Linked DNA regions of Homo sapiens: all the other regions are linked to region 1. The links are contacts of gene promoters, found by promoter capture Hi-C in blood cells and fetal thymus (Javierre and others, 2016). All regions are on one chromosome and are shown on one strand. Each heading gives the region's core, a stretch centred on a gene start or on the middle of the fragment in contact. The rest is flanking DNA. Distances are from core to core; before and after follow the strand shown. Region 1 holds the start of SNRK (SNF related kinase). Region 2 has its middle 84 kb from the start of SNRK. Region 3 holds the start of SNRK-AS1 (SNRK antisense RNA 1). Region 4 has its middle 80 kb from the start of POMGNT2.

What was found. The method cuts DNA at HindIII sites, captures the fragments that hold promoters and counts their contacts. A CHiCAGO score of 5 or more calls a contact.
Region 2: a contact is called between a fragment that was not itself captured here and the fragment with the promoter of SNRK in region 1, in 1 of 17 cell types (non-activated CD4 T cells). The highest score is 7.3, in non-activated CD4 T cells.
Region 3: a contact is called between the fragment with the promoter of SNRK-AS1 here and the fragment with the promoter of SNRK in region 1, in 4 of 17 cell types (total CD8 T cells, naive CD8 T cells, non-activated CD4 T cells and 1 more). The highest score is 7.3, in total CD8 T cells.
Region 4: a contact is called between a fragment that was not itself captured here and the fragment with the promoter of SNRK in region 1, in 7 of 17 cell types (non-activated CD4 T cells, total CD4 T cells, naive CD4 T cells and 4 more). The highest score is 8.9, in non-activated CD4 T cells.

The regions. Positions count from the first base shown.
Region 1 is chr3:43,284,493-43,288,477 of GRCh38, forward strand. SNRK (SNF related kinase) reads left to right here and starts at 2,048. Exons shown (of 7, transcript NM_017719.5): 1 at 2,048-2,183. RefSeq lists an enhancer at 1,788-2,288 and silencers at 1,893-2,292, 2,533-2,582. The HindIII fragment of the contact is 7,817 bases long and covers 9-3,985 here.
Region 2 is chr3:43,200,152-43,204,292 of GRCh38, forward strand. No RefSeq gene overlaps it. Among named protein-coding and RNA genes, the nearest start is that of SNRK, 84 kb to the right of the region's middle. The HindIII fragment of the contact is 578 bases long and covers 1,032-1,609 here.
Region 3 is chr3:43,350,396-43,354,895 of GRCh38, forward strand. SNRK-AS1 (SNRK antisense RNA 1) reads right to left here and starts at 1,567. Exons shown (of 3, transcript NR_046757.1): 1 at 1,203-1,567; 2 at 936-986. SNRK (SNF related kinase) reads left to right here. Exons shown (of 7, transcript NM_017719.5): 7 at 1-748. The HindIII fragment of the contact is 8,620 bases long and covers 1-4,500 here.
Region 4 is chr3:43,183,831-43,187,971 of GRCh38, forward strand. No RefSeq gene overlaps it. Among named protein-coding and RNA genes, the nearest start is that of POMGNT2, 80 kb to the left of the region's middle. The HindIII fragment of the contact is 1,576 bases long and covers 593-2,168 here.

The DNA of each region.
Region 1 (3,985 bases), core at 798-3,297:
CTAATTAAAGCTTCTTACAGGTCCATAAAAAGACCCAACATTAAAAAAGCAGTGTGTTGGAGAAAGCCCCAGGGCAGAGTGGAAAAGGAGTTTCTTCATTAACTATAAGCACATTTGCTTAAATTCCAACTTAAGTAATACTATTAATTTGTACTTGAATATCTTAAAATATTGCCGAAGCATAATCAAATCATGTCACCACATTTATGGTGTGGAACCAAAACTGGGTCATATTCTTGCCAGCAGCACTTCAGCTACCCAAGAAATACTGGGGATGAATAAATGATTTACCATGTGGCCAGTACTGCGTCCTTCTCTAGAAGAGTATTGCAGCCAACTTCATTTAAATCAATTTATTATTTTGCCCTTTTTCATTTGTTTTGCTCTTTTATGCCTTGTTTTCCTTAGAAAATTTATTCAAAACCTAGTTAAACAGCAGCAATATAAATACTTTATTTTTCAAGAGCTTATATATTATCGTCATTGTTCTGTAGTTACTGATATAACTCAGGGACTACAGACCCAGGGGTGGAGGCCTTCGACCACTGGAAATCCCTTGGGAGACCATTACAGTGGTATTTTCTCCCTTTAGTTGGCTACAGAGTTCCCTGAATAGTGATATCTCCCTGAGGAGAAAAGTGCATGGTCTTCCTGATTTCTAGCAACAAAAGGACAAATTCTACAAATCCAAGTTAGGAGCTCTTGCTTAATATGCTGCTACAGTTACGATTTCCATGTCAAAATGAGATGACTCTTTTATGGTCTTTTCAGGTCAGAGTGATCCCAGGTGGGACCCTAAGGCGCAGAGGCCTAATCTGAGGCTTTCCCTGGTGCTCTCCCACCACCTGATGCAAGGGTATTAGGGTAACTGGGAGTCCCCTTGATCAGAAAACCCTATGTTATTACCCTAAGAATCAAACTGTTTGCACCTCCCAACAATCCACTCCTGCTTCCCAATCATCTTCAGACATGCAAAGTTGATGCATAGAAGCTAAAAGGCTTTTGACATTTGCAGGTCAACAGAGATTTGCTAAAACCATCTAGATTTCTCTTCGCAGTCCAGTCAATTCAACCAAGCCTGCAGCATCTCCGCAGCTCTTCTGGCTTGTGTCCTTCCTTGCTAGGGGTCCTTTCTTGGGGAAGGGTGGACACAACGTGGGAACAGAAGGGGAAAAGCAGGTTGAAGAAATCTGGCGTCTGGTTTGTTGGTGTTCCCTTCCAGGAACCCTGAAGAGCTGGTCTCTATTGCATGCCATGCTTCCAGGGGTGGGAGTCGGGAGTCCCCTCCCACCCTCTGCGGCCATCCCTAAGCTCCCTTCCAGAGCAACCTGGCCTGGCGACCATACCACTGAACCATCAAGGGCTATGGTTAATGCCCGGCGTGTTTTGAATCTCTGACTTCACGTGCTTTGATGTGTCCCCACGACCGTTTACTTTTCTATGCTGTTGCCAGAGGCTGCCTAGCAGGGCCTGTGTCTCCCGCTGACCTTTAAGGCCAGCACTGCATTCAGATGTTGGGCTTTTCCAATTTTGCTTAAATAACAACAAAATCAACCGAATTTTTTCAAATTAGAGTCCCAGGGAGAAGAAACTACAGAGAAAAAAATCATATTATGTATATATATGTATATACATATGTGCATGTGTGTATGTATATGTATTTTTACAATTTTTTTATCCTTGTTTAAACCTGGGCGGGAACCAAAGAGTAAAGCGCGTGCGGCTCCCTGCCCCCTGCCGCCAAGACGCAGTCCTGTACAGACGCGGTCCCTTCCCTCCGATTTCCCCTGACAGCTCGCGCTACTTTTTCCCGGCCATTGTTCCGTGTCCCTGGTGCTTCCTCCTCCCCCGTCCTCCATCCTCCTTGGGCGCCTTGCCCGCTTTGTCCCGCCAGCCGCCTCAGCCCCGACTCGCCGGGGTCAGAAAGCCGCCAGGATGCCCTCCAGCAGCCCGCGCGCCGGCCGCAGGTGCGCGCCGCCCCGCCCTGCCCTTCCCGCGGCCCCGCCCCAGCGCTGACGTCACAGTGACGCGCAGCCCGCGCAGGCGCAGCTACCCGGCACCCCCTCCCCGCGGCCGGCAGCCCGCTCGGTATTATGATTAGCGCTGGGTGCGGGGTTTCGGCGGCCGGGAGGGAGTTGTCGGCGCCGCGGCCGCTGCGGACGGACGCTCGCCTGCCGGCTGAGGTAGGGGCGAGCGCGGAGCGCGGCGGGGCGCGGCGGCCGTAGGCAGGGGTGCGGGGCCGGCCTCCGCCGCCTCAGTAGCCTCCGCTGTTGCCGGGCTGGGCGCCCGGGCCGGGGCGCTCGCCGCAGGCGGAAAGTAAGTTGCGCTCTCGGCGCCGGCCGCAGCGCGCGGCCCGGGAGGACGCGGGGCCCGGGCTGCGGTGGCCCGGACCCCGCGGCGCGGCCTGGCGGCGGGGCGGCGGCGGGGCCCGGCGGGAGCCGTCACTGCGGCGGCGGCCGCGGTCGCCTGGAGGCCCTGCCCTTGCGGCCGCGGCGGGATTGCGGCACCTCGGAAGGCGCCCGCATCCCCGCGCCCCGCCCCGGAGCGGGCCGAGTGCGGCGCCCGCGGGGCCCCGCGCCCTGGGCGCTTGGTAGGGTGTGTGTTCTTTGAATGCGTTTTCCCCTTTCAGAAGACTGTAGAAATCCGGCCTCAGCAAAAGGGTTCCGTGGTCAAACTGCTTTACAATAGAGTGGGGATGTTGTCTGTAGAGAAAGGGCAAAGGGGTAAGGAAAGAGGAGCAGTGCCATTCCCGAGGGAGAGCTAGAATTTTTGCAGACTGGGAGACTGGGAAATCTACGTTCTTTTCCATAGTCATCGCCTGTTGATTTCTTTCTGGTCCATTTTACAGGGACCTTCCTGCCTTTTACTTGGACTTGGGTTGCAGGAAAGTGGCAGCCTTTTATCTTCGGGGTTCTTGGAGCTGTGCTATTTGTAACTGTTGGATCGCATACAGTCCAGTAGTTTCATAGGGAGTTTCAGGCTTTGGGGAGAATTTAGCAGTGGAGTTCCTAAATCTATAGAGGTCTGAGGATATGGGACCTTTCAAACTGTCATGTTACTTTCCACCCCCCTTCCCTTTAATTATGTGCATTCTTAAAGTCTTAGGAACCGTGGTAAAGTTGACTTAATGCCTTAAACATTTTGTCAGGTTTTAAGGTGAAGCATGGCTTGCAAGTGTTGGACATCCTGTTGAATCTCCACCAAGTTCCTATCAAACATGAAATGCCTGAGTTTGGGCTCCTTGTATGGGATTGGAGCACTATGTCCCAAACCAGTCTTTAACTTATCAGAATATATACAGCAGTGTACTTTAAAGCCCGGGTTGTCAAGGCTTATGTAATCAGTTTGTTAATTTATAATCTCGTTACATTGCTTTCCAGATTTATAAAATAATTCCCTTAAGGAAATCTGTCCTCAACGTCTGCTTAAATATTTCTCTTGGAATTGGATTCTTGAAGAGGAATGTACTGTACAAGTGATGATTAAAGCATACTAATTAGACAAGTTTCTTTTTTTAAAGAACACCAAATACCAAATTTTTAATCTGATTATCTGTGTAATTGTCCTTGAGAGGAGAACAGGTGGACATTCCCATTTTACAGAACTAGAAATGAGAGAAATTACATGACATTTCCAAGGTCACATATTGAAGCAGTGTAGAAAGTCAGGTGCACAGTGCTAACTTTTTATAATACTCTCATCCTGAAGGCTTTTCAGGCAGGAAACTTTCAGTGCCACCTTTCAATTTTTTTTTAAATTTGTATAATCAGTTTTTAATTGTTCATTTTGTGCACAAAAATTACTCTCACCGTATTTTTTAATAATTCTGAGTATTTTTTTCTGTTTTACTGCAGTAAGATCCATTAGTCTAAAACATGCTAGAACTCAGAAGTTGTACTAATTTTATTTTTCTAGACCAGAAGTATAGGTTGGGTCTTTATGGTTTAGATTTAATCACATAATCCTAAAAGAAAGGCTTTTAAAT
Region 2 (4,141 bases), core at 71-2,570, 85 kb before region 1:
TCATAAAATGGGCTTCCTGCAGGCACTGTTGAATCCTGAATTAAGTGTGAACAGATGATTCACTAAGCGACCTGGAGCAAGTTGTTTAACCTCTCTGATCTTTGGGTTTTTCAGCTACTAAATAAGAATATTGAAACAGATTACCTCTAAGAACTCTCCCAGCTCTCATGTTCCAGGATGCTGGTTGTGGTCCAGTCTCCAAAAATGCTGCTCCTCCGGGCAGGATCCTCACTTACCTCCTGGTGGCCATACTCTTCCTGAATTGAACTTGGGCTTTCTGTGTGACCGATAGAGTATGGTGAAGAGAACGGTGAGTGGCTTCTGAAGGTAAGCCATAAAGGGCACGGCAGCTTCTGCTTTGGTCTTTTGGATTGTTTGCTCTAGGGGATGCCAGCCACTACGTCATGAGAACACTCAAGCCACCACAGGGAGAGGCTCTTGAAGAAAGTAATTAAGGTCTCGTGCTAATAGTGAACTATCTTGGAAATGGATCCTCTTGCTTCAGTCAGCCTTCAATTGGCTGTAATCTCAGCAAACATTTGACTTTAACCGCATGAGAGACCATAGCCACAACCTCCCAGCCACACCACCCCTGAATTCCTGACCCACAGACACTTTGAGAGACAATAATTGATTACTGTTCTTTTATTTATTTATTTATTTTTATTTTTTAGAGACAGTCTCACGTTGTCACCCAGGCTGGAGTGCAGTGGTGCAATCTCGGCTCGCTGCAACCTCCGCCTCCTGGGTTCAAACGATTCTTGTGCCTCAACCTCCCAAGTAGCTGGGATTACAGGCACGCACCACAACACCTGGCTAATTTTTGTATTTTTGGTAGAGATGGGGTTTCACCATGTTGGCCAGGCTGCTTTTGAACTCCTGGCCTCAAGTGATCTGCTCGCCTTGGCCTCCCAAAGTGCTGAGATTATAGGCATGAGCCACCACGCCCAGCTGATTATTGTTATTTTAAACCACTGAGTTGTGGAATAATTTGTCAGGCAATAATAGATAACTAATATACCGGTACTGAAAGCTTACCCTTCCTCATTCTTTAAAAACTTCTGCCACAAAGAAAACACAAAAGTGTTGTATAAGCTGAATCCCCAAAACAGAAATCTTTCCTAACTTGGTCACCAACTTGGATGCCTGGGATTTAACCTGAAAGTCTCAATACAAAAGCCCTCTTTGTTCATTTGGCACCCAAAGACCTGATGACACCCAATCTCCATTCTGCTCCTCCCTCTTTTCCTTCTTTTTCTCATCAGCCATGTTTCAGTCCTGTTTTAACAATTCTACTCCCATTCTGCTGCTGATTTCCTAGGTGCCCTGGGGACATGTTTCTTGCTCTTCTGAATGAGCTTTCCAAGTTCCATAATCAGTTTGAATATATCACAAGCACCTGTGGGCACTTGGCAGGTGCTGAACAAATATTATTTCCTGCCTTGGTCTAGGTCCTTCAGAAAGCAGAAACTGAGCAAGGATTGAGGTTCTAATTTGCTTAGAAGTTGCAAGCCCAGAGCAATGGAGATGAGGGGGCAGAAAATGAGGGAAGAGAAGTCATGAGAAGTAATGCAATGCACTACTGTGATGACCTATTTCACCCACCATAAGCTTGGATGGGACACCAGGTTGCATGTTTACTTAGTATAAAGAGTTCTCTGAAAAGGCTGCAGGAAGGATTAATGATGCAGAGGCACCCACAAGACAGAGTAGGATGGGGGAAGTTATCTGCCCTGCGCCCATCTGTCTTCTATCTCCTAGGTCAATGTCCACTTCCTGAATAGTTACTAACCTTGCATTATCCAGTCCCTGATGACTGCCCAAGAAACCAGATCCCATGCCCCATGGTGAGGTGTTTCACCCAGTCCAAAAGTGGAGGGCATCCGGGAGTGAATGGGCACTATCCAGAAGAGGGTACGAAGCCATAGAGGGAACCTAAGAAGATATATAAGGTATGTCTCCTTATAGTTATCCTCTTGGTACTGTTTCCAAATTCTCAGACACTAATTTGCTAGCAAGCACAACTATAGAAAGACCTGGATTCTTGTTGCCTTGACTGTACCCGTTCCTCAAACTTGTAACGTGGGTGGAAGATAGAGTGAGGCTGCATATTTTTGTAAGCTGACCCTTGCAGGCTCCAAGACAGATGGACACACTCAAATCTTGGCATGTAAAATGCAAGACTCGCTCTTTCTTCAGGTGGCTAGAAGGGAGATCTTATCTGTCAGTTGAGGGGGTCTCTGAGACAGTAACATTCGCCCAGCAGTTTAAGAAAAATGTAATTTAATAGAGTAAAACCAAAGCTTTTGAGCAGTCATTGGGCTGATTTTGACGAAAATTCCCCAAAGCTCTTGTTTTTTGCTAGGAAGAGAAATGTTTCCTCCTAAGAGTTTTTCAAACCTCTACTTAAATTCAACAGTGGCAAAGTGGCTGTGCTCAACAGATGGTGGATGCAGGAGTCCCTCAGAATTCCAGTGTACAAGCCGGGCATGGTGGGTCATGCCTGTAATCCCAGCACTTTGGGAGGCTGAGGTGGTTGGATCACTTGAGGCAGGAGTTTGAGACCTGCCTGGGCAACACGGTGAAACCCTATCTCTACTAAAAAATACAAAAATTGGCCAGGTGTGGTGGCACATGCCTGTAATCCCAGCTACTTGGGAAGCTGAGGTGCAAGAATTGCTTGAACTCAGGAGGTGGAGGTTGTAGTGAGCCAAGATCATGCCACTGCACTCCAGCCTGGGCGACAGAGCAAGATTCTGTCTGGAAAAAAAAAAAAAAAAAAAAAAAAAGAATTCCAGTGTACCAAGAGGCTCAGTCCAGCCCTCATTTACAGAGGAGGATGGGTGGGTGGGTGGATGCTTGGGTGGATGAATAGATGAGGTAGCTGCTTAGTTTTGGATATTCAAGAGGTATTGTCTGCACCCAACCCCTTAAACAGGCAAACAAGAAAAAGCATCAGTGTGGGTTTTTACTGTCTTGAATCATTCTCTCTGACATGTATTTCTTGTCCCTGACACAGCTACCCCCTCCGATCCCCCACCCTTCTGGTTTGTTATCAGCTCCATGCTGTCTCTTTGCATTAAAGTGACAAGAAGCAGCACAAAGCTGACGACAGGAGGCCAGAGCTGTAATTTGCACTGACATTCACTGGCGTTATCCACTTATTGCCTGGTAAGCCAAATAGGAGATTTGTCTGATTTTGATCCCAGGAAGAGAAATGACAACCCTGCTCCACTCTTGCCATTCTAAACAAGGCACCAAGCTGGTCCTCAGGTCTGAGTTCTGGCTGGCAGTGACCCCTCGCAAAATGTGGGTCTTCGCTATCATTCCTCCTTTCCTCCTCTGGCTGAAATTTCCTTTCAGGCCTGACATCCGGCAAACACTGAACTAGAGATTTTGGTTGCTGAAGAGTGAGTACTACTGTCATTTTCTCAGCTAGGGGTGGTACGGTTCACAGGTCACCATGAGGCCTCAAAAAACTATTTGGGGAAAGAGTCCTGACTTCCCCTTGGAAGTCAAACCCCAGCTGAAAAATACCTCAACAATTCTCTTTCTGCCTCCCAGACCCTGCCCAAGCTGTAAGAGAAACAAGGCTGAACAAGAGGCTCAAGAGAAGTGGCATGAAGGGAGTTAGCCTGCGAGCAGGGCTTGCTACATAATTGGCAAGGCCCAGTACAAAATAAAAAAGTAGGACCCTTGCTCAAAAAAGGGGGGGAAAGTGTTGTTAAAAGCACTAAAATGTAAAGCTTTTGTCTTTCTTCTGTGATCTCTCTCTGATGTCATGACATTTTTAAAAATCTGTTATGTAATGTTGTTCTTAGTATAAATAAATTATTTGCATGAATTCTACCATTAGTTTATATTATGCAATGCCAGTTTTAAATGCATGTATAAGAGTATGTAACTCAGATACACCAAAATGGCACAATCTGTTTTTTTTTTTTTTTTTTTTGAGACGGAGTCTCACTCTGTTGCCCAGGCTGGAGTGCAGTGGTGCAATTGGCTCACTGCAACCTCCACCTCCTGGGTTCAAGCAATTCTCCTGCCTCAGCCTCCTGAGTAGCTGGGATTACAGGTGCGCGCCACCACGCCCAGCTAATTTTTGTATTTTTAGTAGAGACGGGGTTTCACCATGTTGGCC
Region 3 (4,500 bases), core at 317-2,816, 65 kb after region 1:
GCTGTTTTCCAAGCAGTGTAAATACTTTTTCCTGTGATTATGTATAGCCTTGGAATGGCACCTTTTAACTAACCCATATGTGTTTGGTTTCAATGGTTTTTTATATTCAGATGTATATATGGTGCTCACTTTAGGATCAGCAGTGTTGACCATTTATGCTGCATAGCTGTATTATAGCCTTATTAGTTGTGTGGTTGACCCTTGGGGTATACAAATGTCAGTCTGAGTGGTGTCTTACTCCTTTGTTTATAAGTGAATGATTGTGCATGTTTTGTATGTCATAGTATGTCGTCACATAAAAGGGAGGGAGCGAAAAACCATTACATTAAGATAATATTGGACCAAACTACTTACTTGCTCTAAACAGTTACTTGTACCCCTTAACCTGTCTTCAAAAGTTGCATATAGTTACAGTAGTGTATAAATTAAATATTGTGGAAAAACAGTCTTGTATTTTTCTGTATGTGTGTATATATATATAATTATGTACTTCTGGCAATTCTATCTGTATTTAAAGATGTGACAATCTTGACACCAATTTTAAGAATAGCTGTGAGACCGAATTAAAGATAATCCCTACCAAGTGAAAATTGATGTGTGTTAAGAGGGTACAGAATTATCAACTGATTTGGTCAGTTGCTTCCAATGCTGGTTGATTTCCCTCATTGTGTAAACATTGACAGGTATGTGACAAATGGGAAAAAAAATCCAAATAATAAAGTGACATATTGGTGTTCAGCAATATAAACCGTGTCCTGTGTTGTATTGCTTCTCATGAGTGTAGCTTTGTGTGATCCCACCTCAGTTAGACCCAGCCTTCTCCATGCCCTGTGCCTGCACCACCAGATTTGGCTGAAAAAGTACAGTCATTATTATGTTTAAACTCATGGCTACAAATCATAGGTGGGGCCAGGGTGCCCATTAAGTATACTTACTTTATTTCTCTATTTCATCTCCTTTCCTCACTCTGCTGGTCACCATGCTGCCTAATTGAATAAAGGGAAGCAATGAGAACTGCCACAAGTTCCCACCTCTGCCTTCCTCCCTTCCTTCATACACATTCACATGCTCTGCCCTTCCTCCTGTTACTGTGATTCCAAGGTCAGCTACTCTTACTCAGTTCTCACAACCATTACCATAATTGACTTTTACAACCCCCCCCCGCCCGCCAAAGAAATCTTGTGCCCTTTGGCATACTTTACCTTGTCCGCAACTCCCTTTACTCCAGCCTCATGCAACCACTTCCTGTGATCAATTTTCAATCCCATGTTAGAATTTGATGAATTGCTCACTTTCTTCCTTATGAACTTCCCATCTTTCAGTATCTCACTTCTGCCTTGCTGCTCTTCATGTCCACTGGTCCTTCCTCATTCTTCCAACCTCTAAATTTGGAATGTCCCAATGTTCAATTCTGGACCCCTGCTCTATCTGCAGTGACTCCTGATCTCAGTTAGTCTAGTATCTATATGCTGATAGAAGCCCAAAATATATTTAGCCCACATACCCTGGGAACACTGGATTTCAACTATCTATTTGACTTTTCTTCTTGGATGTGTCTGTGTGTCTACAGCATCTCAATTTTTACAAGTTCAAAACCCCTAATCTTTCCCCTCAAATCCTTTTACTAGCGCACCCATCTTAATAAATATCAACTCCTAGCCTTCAATAGTTTCATTCAAGCTGAAAATCTTGGTGTCATCCACTTTTTCATCCCAACATTCAGTTTATGAGCAAATCTTAACTTGCCTTTCACAGTTGACTCCTTCTCATTGCCACCACCACTACCACTCTAGTCCATGACACTCAACTGTAAATGCCTCTTAAAGGGTTTCCCTGCATTTGCCCTTGTCTTTCTCATTTATTTTCCACTTAGCAGTATGAGAGATCATTTTAAAGGCTAAATCATACCATGTTTTGAAACGTGTTTAGTTTCCAAATATTTGGGGTTTTCCCACATAGGTTTCTATAATTTTTAGTTTAATTCTATTTTTATCAGTGCATGCTTTCTATAGTTTAAATCTTTTGAAATTACTGAAACTTGTTTTATGGCCCAACATACGACCTATCTTGGTGAATGTTTCCTGAGTGCTTGGAAAGTGCTATTGGTGGAGTGTCCTATACATGTCAGTTCGTTCAAGTTGGTTGATAATGTTCAAGTTTTCTATATTCTTACTGATTTTCTGTCTCAATTATTGAGAGAGGAGTGTTGAAATCTCCAACTATAGTTGTGGATTTGTCTATTTCTCCTTTTAGTTCTAGCAGTGTTATTTTAGAAAATTTGAAGCTCTGTTGTTTGGTACATAAGCATTTAAGATTGTTACGTCATATCAATGAATTGATCCCTTTCCTCATGAAATGTTCCTTCTTTATGACTGGTAAACTATTTGTTCTGAAATCTACTTTGTGTGATAGTGATACAGTAACTCCAGCTTTTTTTTGACTTGTGAGAATATATCTTTTTCCATTCTTTACTGTTAACCTATTGTGTCTTTATGTTTAAAGTTTGTTTTTTGCAGATATCATATAGTTCGAGCTTGCTTTCTTATCCCATCAGCAAATGTCTGTCTTTGATTGAGGGTTTAGATGTATTACATTTAGTGTAATTGTCAATATGGTTGAGTTTAAACCTACCTAGTTTTCTATTTGTCTCGTCTGTTCTTTTTCCCTCTTTTGCTACCTTGTTTTGGTTTAACTGAGCACCTTTTGTTACTCCATTTTATCTCCGCTATTGGCTTATTGGCTGTAACTCTTGTTTTTCAGGGGGTGCTATAAGATTTGCAATACATGTATTTTATTATATCACAGTCTATCTTAATATATCACTTCATGTAGAATATAAAAACCTTACAACTGTATGCCTCTATTTTCCTCTTCCTGTTCCTTATACTACTGTTGTCATACATTTTATTTTTGTATATGTATAAATATTGTTTTAACTAGTTTTTAAGGGATTAAACAGGGGGGGGGGGAGTATTTTAGCTACATATTTGTCATTTGCAGCACTCTTCATTTCTTTGTGTAGATCCACAGTTTGGTTTTCCTTCTGCCTGTAGAACATTCTTTAACATTTCATATAATGCAGATCTGCTGGCATTACATTCTGTCAGCTTTTGTTTTGAAAAATTACTTTTCCTTTATGAAAGATATTATCATTGGGTATAAAAATTCTTGATTCATTTTTATTGCAATGCTGGACACTGAATTTTGCATTGTTGAATGCTGGAATTTTTTGTATTCGTGTGAGAAGTATTGGATTTCATTTTGGACTGCAGTTATTTAAAATCATTGGATCCTTCATGTCTCACTTTTAAACTGTTAGGGCAGATCCTGAGCAGTCTTCAGTCTAGGGCTAATTTGGCCCACTACTGAGGCAATACCTCTCTAGGGACTCTATTGAGGCTTTTCTACTCTGGCTGGTAGGAACATGAACTATTACCAGCCTTGGGTAAGTTCTGAGCATTGTTCAGCCTGCTGCTTTCCAGTGGTTCTTTCTCCAGCCTCAGGTAGTTTTCTCATAAGTACTGATCAGTACTCAACCAAAGACCACAGATTTTCTTTTGGAGCTTGCTCACTATCTGTGCAGCTCCCTCCTCTCTGCCCTGCACATTGATCTTGAACTTCAAACTACCTGCTCAACTCAACCAGACTATTTGGGCTTTCCCTCTCTGTGTTCTGGCAACTGCCTTTGGGCAGTGAGCTGGGGCATTCAACTCAGGGCTCACCTCATTTGCCTCCCTTCTCTCGGGGTGACAGCCCTATGCTGTCTGTTGCTCAATGTCTGGAAACTATTGCTCCATATATTTTGTTTGGTTTCCTAGTTGTTTAAGGCAAGAGGGTCAATCAAATTCCTCTAATTCTATCCTGGCCAGAAACAGCAGTCTAAATAGTGGGTCACTCCCCTGCTCAAAATCCTTCCATGGCTTTCCATCTCAGATTTAAAAGTTTAATCCTTGTGTGGTGGCCCACAAGGCCCTAGTGTGTCCTCTGCCCCAGTTATCACATCTGCTCCTCTCAACTTGCTCATTCAGCTCTGGCTGCAATAACCTCCTTGCTAGTCCTTGAACAGGCCAAACACAGGAGATGTCACACTTCGGGTGGTTATCAATCCATGGCCCTTCTGCCCCCTACAGCTGCTCAGCAGGGACGAGGTTTCTCAGACTTCTGGGATCTGGGGAGAGACAGATGAGAAGGGGAAATAGGATGTAGCCCTTTTTGAGCTATTAGGGCCTAAGGACATTGTGACTACCAGGGAGAGAGTCATATTTTTCAGGACGTCTGAATCCAGGACTAAGCACTTGCTGGACACCTCACTCTGAGCAAGGTGTTACAGATTGGCAAGTCGTCAGAAGAGAAAAAAATGAATCGTGGTTCTTGCCAGTTCATAATGCCCTTGGAGAAGAAAATGGTGATTTAAATTAGCACAAGTTGATGGATCAGAGGTGGTGATGTGTCTGCACAGCACCGCTATCAGGGTCAGGGAATTCGAAGAAGGGCGAAGCA
Region 4 (4,141 bases), core at 131-2,630, 100 kb before region 1:
CACACAAGGATAAAAATCAATTGACCCTGACACATGCCTTTCTCTGGGGCTACTTGTGTGTCCTTTCATGCATTTCTCTTTTGCTCGAGTCAGCTGAGATCTGATTAATTTCTGTTGCTTGCAGTCAGAAATCCCAACCTGAGGGTCCTACTTTGTCCTTCCCTTAAGGACTCAGAGATAGGGAAGCTCAGGAGAGAAACAGGAACTGTGGAAAAATTTCCCAGATGATGGGGAGACGGGGTCAGGGAGACGGAGCAGCCCAGTGCAGAAGTAGATCAGATTAGATCAGAACCCAGGAGAGAACCTGTAAACACTGGCTGATGTGGTAGGGACATAATACACTCAAACAGGCCATAGGGATTGGGGTCTTCCTCCTAGCCCCTAGCTTGAGCCCTCCTCTCTGTGACACCAAGCTAGGCCCTATCATGCCTAGCTTTGATAGGGCTCCTGTATTTCCCTCTGGCTCACATTTCTATATTTGATCTTGATTAGGGCAATGAAAGGCTCTGGGATTGGCTTGTCCAACTCCCTCATTGTCTTCAGATAGAGAAAGTGAGGACCAAAGACAATAGGAGTCTTTTGGTCCTTTGTAAGCTTGCTTTTTGTTTCTATCTGAGCTTATCCCACAAACAGCTTAAGAACCCCCGAAGAGCTCCTTCTAGGGAGGGCCAGGCACTGGCAGGACCTCACCACCACCACTTAGACCCAGATGGAGACCAGGAATGGTTTCTACGGTGGCCTAGCTTAAGAGTGAAGTCACAGAGGGGCCTGCAGGATTGGCAAGGTCACCAGTCATTCCCACTAGCTGTACTTTTGGCAGATCAGCTTTTTGTTGGGCATGGGTCAGGCCTTCTCAAAGTGCTCCTCAAGATGAGGCTCAGAGAGGCAACATAAATCATGAAAGGGCCAGCCGTGGGCTCTTCACACAATCCCCTACCATCTTGCTAAAAGTTGAAGGGCAGCACAGCCATACCTCATACATGGTAGCTTATTTTTGGCTGATGAAAGGCCCCAGATACTCAGGCTCCTTAGCAGAGATGTGGGACTTAGGGAGGAAGAACTGTTCATTGGCAATGATGAGCGGCAAGTGATCCCTTTATGGCCCGGAAAGGTCCTTTGGACACTCACGCAGAGCACCAAGGAGATGGAACTCAGCCACCCAACTTGCCCAATTCTGGACTCCTCTCACCTGCCTCAGCCAGGACCAGGGATGGAACAGGGAAGCGGGGAGCAAAGGCCTTCAACCCAGAATGCTCTAGGAGGGGACACTGTGCAACCCAGGCATGATGAGTCCTCTCTGTGAAATAGGGAAAGTCAGAGAACCAGACCTACAGTCAGGCACTGTCAAAAGTTTATGATCCTAATTTCCCAGGGAGCCACAGCCCCTCTCAATTTTGGGGCCTTGCAGGTTCCGCTGCTCCCAGTGGACCAATCCTCTCTCTCCTGGGTGCCTGGGCCACATCCTAGTGGGAGCTGATGTGATTGGCTCAGCTCCAATGACCTTCACATCTCATGGGTCAGGTACCAACAATGGACGAGCTTCCTTGGGTCACCCTTCACCCAGCCAGTGTCATCCCTGAGGAAGGTCAGGACAGGCTGGCAGGTGTCATAGCTGACAAGTCTGGTCACACCCCAGGAGCTGGCCAAGACTCACGTTTGGCACTCACAGTCATAGTCCAAGCAAATTGGGGAGCAGGTGACCTCACTCATGTGGCACAGGGCTTGGTGACCCCTGCCAGGCCCCCCAGTATTTCCCCACTCGATCACCTTTGGCCATGTTAAGAGGACATTGTTAGTCCTGATATTTTTCTTGCTTGTCCTTTGTTAGGGGTAATAAAAATGCCCTAAGAAACTTCACATTAACAAAGTTGTATTCTAAGTCTTAAACAAACAAACAAAAAGGATAAACAGGTTTGTGGGCTAGAGAGCTTCAGATTTATAATAGCAATGCCATTCGTTTGCAGTAGGAATGTCAGTGATAAAGATCTTTTAAATAGCTGTGTGTTGTTTGTTATTCTACGTAAAATTACTCAGCTGGATGATGAAAATGGTGAAAACACAGTGCAACATGACCAAGCAGACCTTGAAGTGTACAATACATCAGGGCATTTTGGGATCATCTAATAAATGGCAGTGCAGTTCCCAACTCCAAACAGAAGAACATGTGAAGCTTCAGCAACCTGATCAGGCCACGTAGGAGCCGACTGTGGTGGCACCATGCACGTAACTGGCCTCAACCGAGTGACCACCCCGTATCCTGTCCTCATTCAGGAAATGCCTCCATCTGCCTTCAGCACTAAATTGAGTTCAATTTCCTTGCCCATTGTCACTTTAACCAAGCGGGAGGAGGCACTGCTCCACCACCTTCCTGCCCCAAGATCCAGACATAGACGCTGCTCCACTCTCTGTAACTGCATGAGATAGGGCAGGTTATGGGACCTCTCTGTGCTTCGGTTTCCTCCTAGGTAAAATGGAAGTGAAGCACCACCTTATAAGGGTGTTTTGAAGTTTAGCATCAGGCATGGAGTAACTGTTCTTAATTATTTGCTGCTTTATTAATAGTATAATCATCACAGGGATTTTCTTAGCTCCTCCAGAGATGAGCTCTTCACCCTCATTGCTACTTGCATGTCTGAGATGGCCTAGGACATACTGATTGATTCATTCATTCATTGAGTTTATCAAATATTTACCAAGTGCTAACTATGTGCTATGCCCTGGGGTCATAATGATGTTATATCTGAGAGATGTTCAATGGTCTTTTTATCCATTTCTTTGGCATTCTAGTGTGGCTTCCTGATTGCCTACACTTAGTGGTACTGATGCAGACTAACAGCTATCATCAATTGGGCACCTACCATAAACCAAGTAATTTATATACACATTATCCAATTAGTTCCTTACACAACCCTAAGTGCTATGTGTTGCTACCTTCACTTTCAGCCAAGAAAACTGAGGCATAGAGAGGTTAAGTAACTCGTTCACATTCCTACAGTGAGATAGCCTCAGCATCAGGATTTGAACAGACATCTGTTTGAGTCCTAACCTCTCCACCATGCTCTGGGAAGCCAAGGGAAGGTGGGAACCCCCTCCCTGTTCTGGAGGGCCATCTTCCTGGTCACAGCAAGACACTCCCTTAGTTTTATCCGTGAGAAGCTGAAAACCCTTCAGCAGCTTCTATTCCCACTACTACACAAATCGTCCTGTGACCAGGGGTGTAAGCAGCCAAGTTTTTTCATGGGGCTGTGTACAAGAATTCCCTTTTCTCTACATCCTTACCAACACTTTTATTTTATCTTTTTGATAACAGCCATCCTAACAGGTATGAGGTGATGCCTCATTGTGGTTTTAATTTGCATTTCTCTGATGATTAATAATGTTAAGCATTTTTTCCATATACTTGTTGGCCATTTATATGATTTTAAGAAAGGAGAAAGGAAGAAAGGAAGGAAGGAAAGAAAGGAAAGAAAGGAAAAGAAAGGATAGATTATTGATTTTGAAATGTTAATTTTGTATCCTGCAACTTTACTGAATTTATTAGTTCTAATAGTTTTTTGTGAAGTCTTCAGGGTTTTTTAATAGATGGTATCACCTGCAAACACAGACAATTTTGCTTCTTCCTTTCAATTTGGATGCCTTTTATTTCTTTTTCTTTCCTATTGCTCTGGCTAGGACTTCCAGTAAGTACTTTACTAAATAGAAGTGGTGAGAGTGGACATCCTTATCTTGTTTCCAATCTTAGAGGAAAAGCTTTCAACTTTTTCCATTGAGTATAATATTAGCTGTGGACTTGTCACATAGGGCATTTGCTATGTTGAGGTACATTTTTTCTATCTATAATTTTTGAGAGTTTTAATCATGAAAAGATGTTAAATTTTGTCAAATGCTTTTTCTGCATTTATTGAGATGCAGAAAATCTCATTATTTTAATTCTTCATTCTGTCAATGCGGTATGTCATTTATTAATTTGCGTATGTTGACCCATCCTTACATTCCAGAGATAAATACCACTTGATTGTGGTGTATGATCCTTTAACATGCTGTTGAATTTGGTTTGCTAGTATTTTGTTGAGGATTTTTGTTTCTATGTTCAGCAGAGATATTGGCCTGTAATTTTCTTTTCCTGTAGTATCCTTGTCTG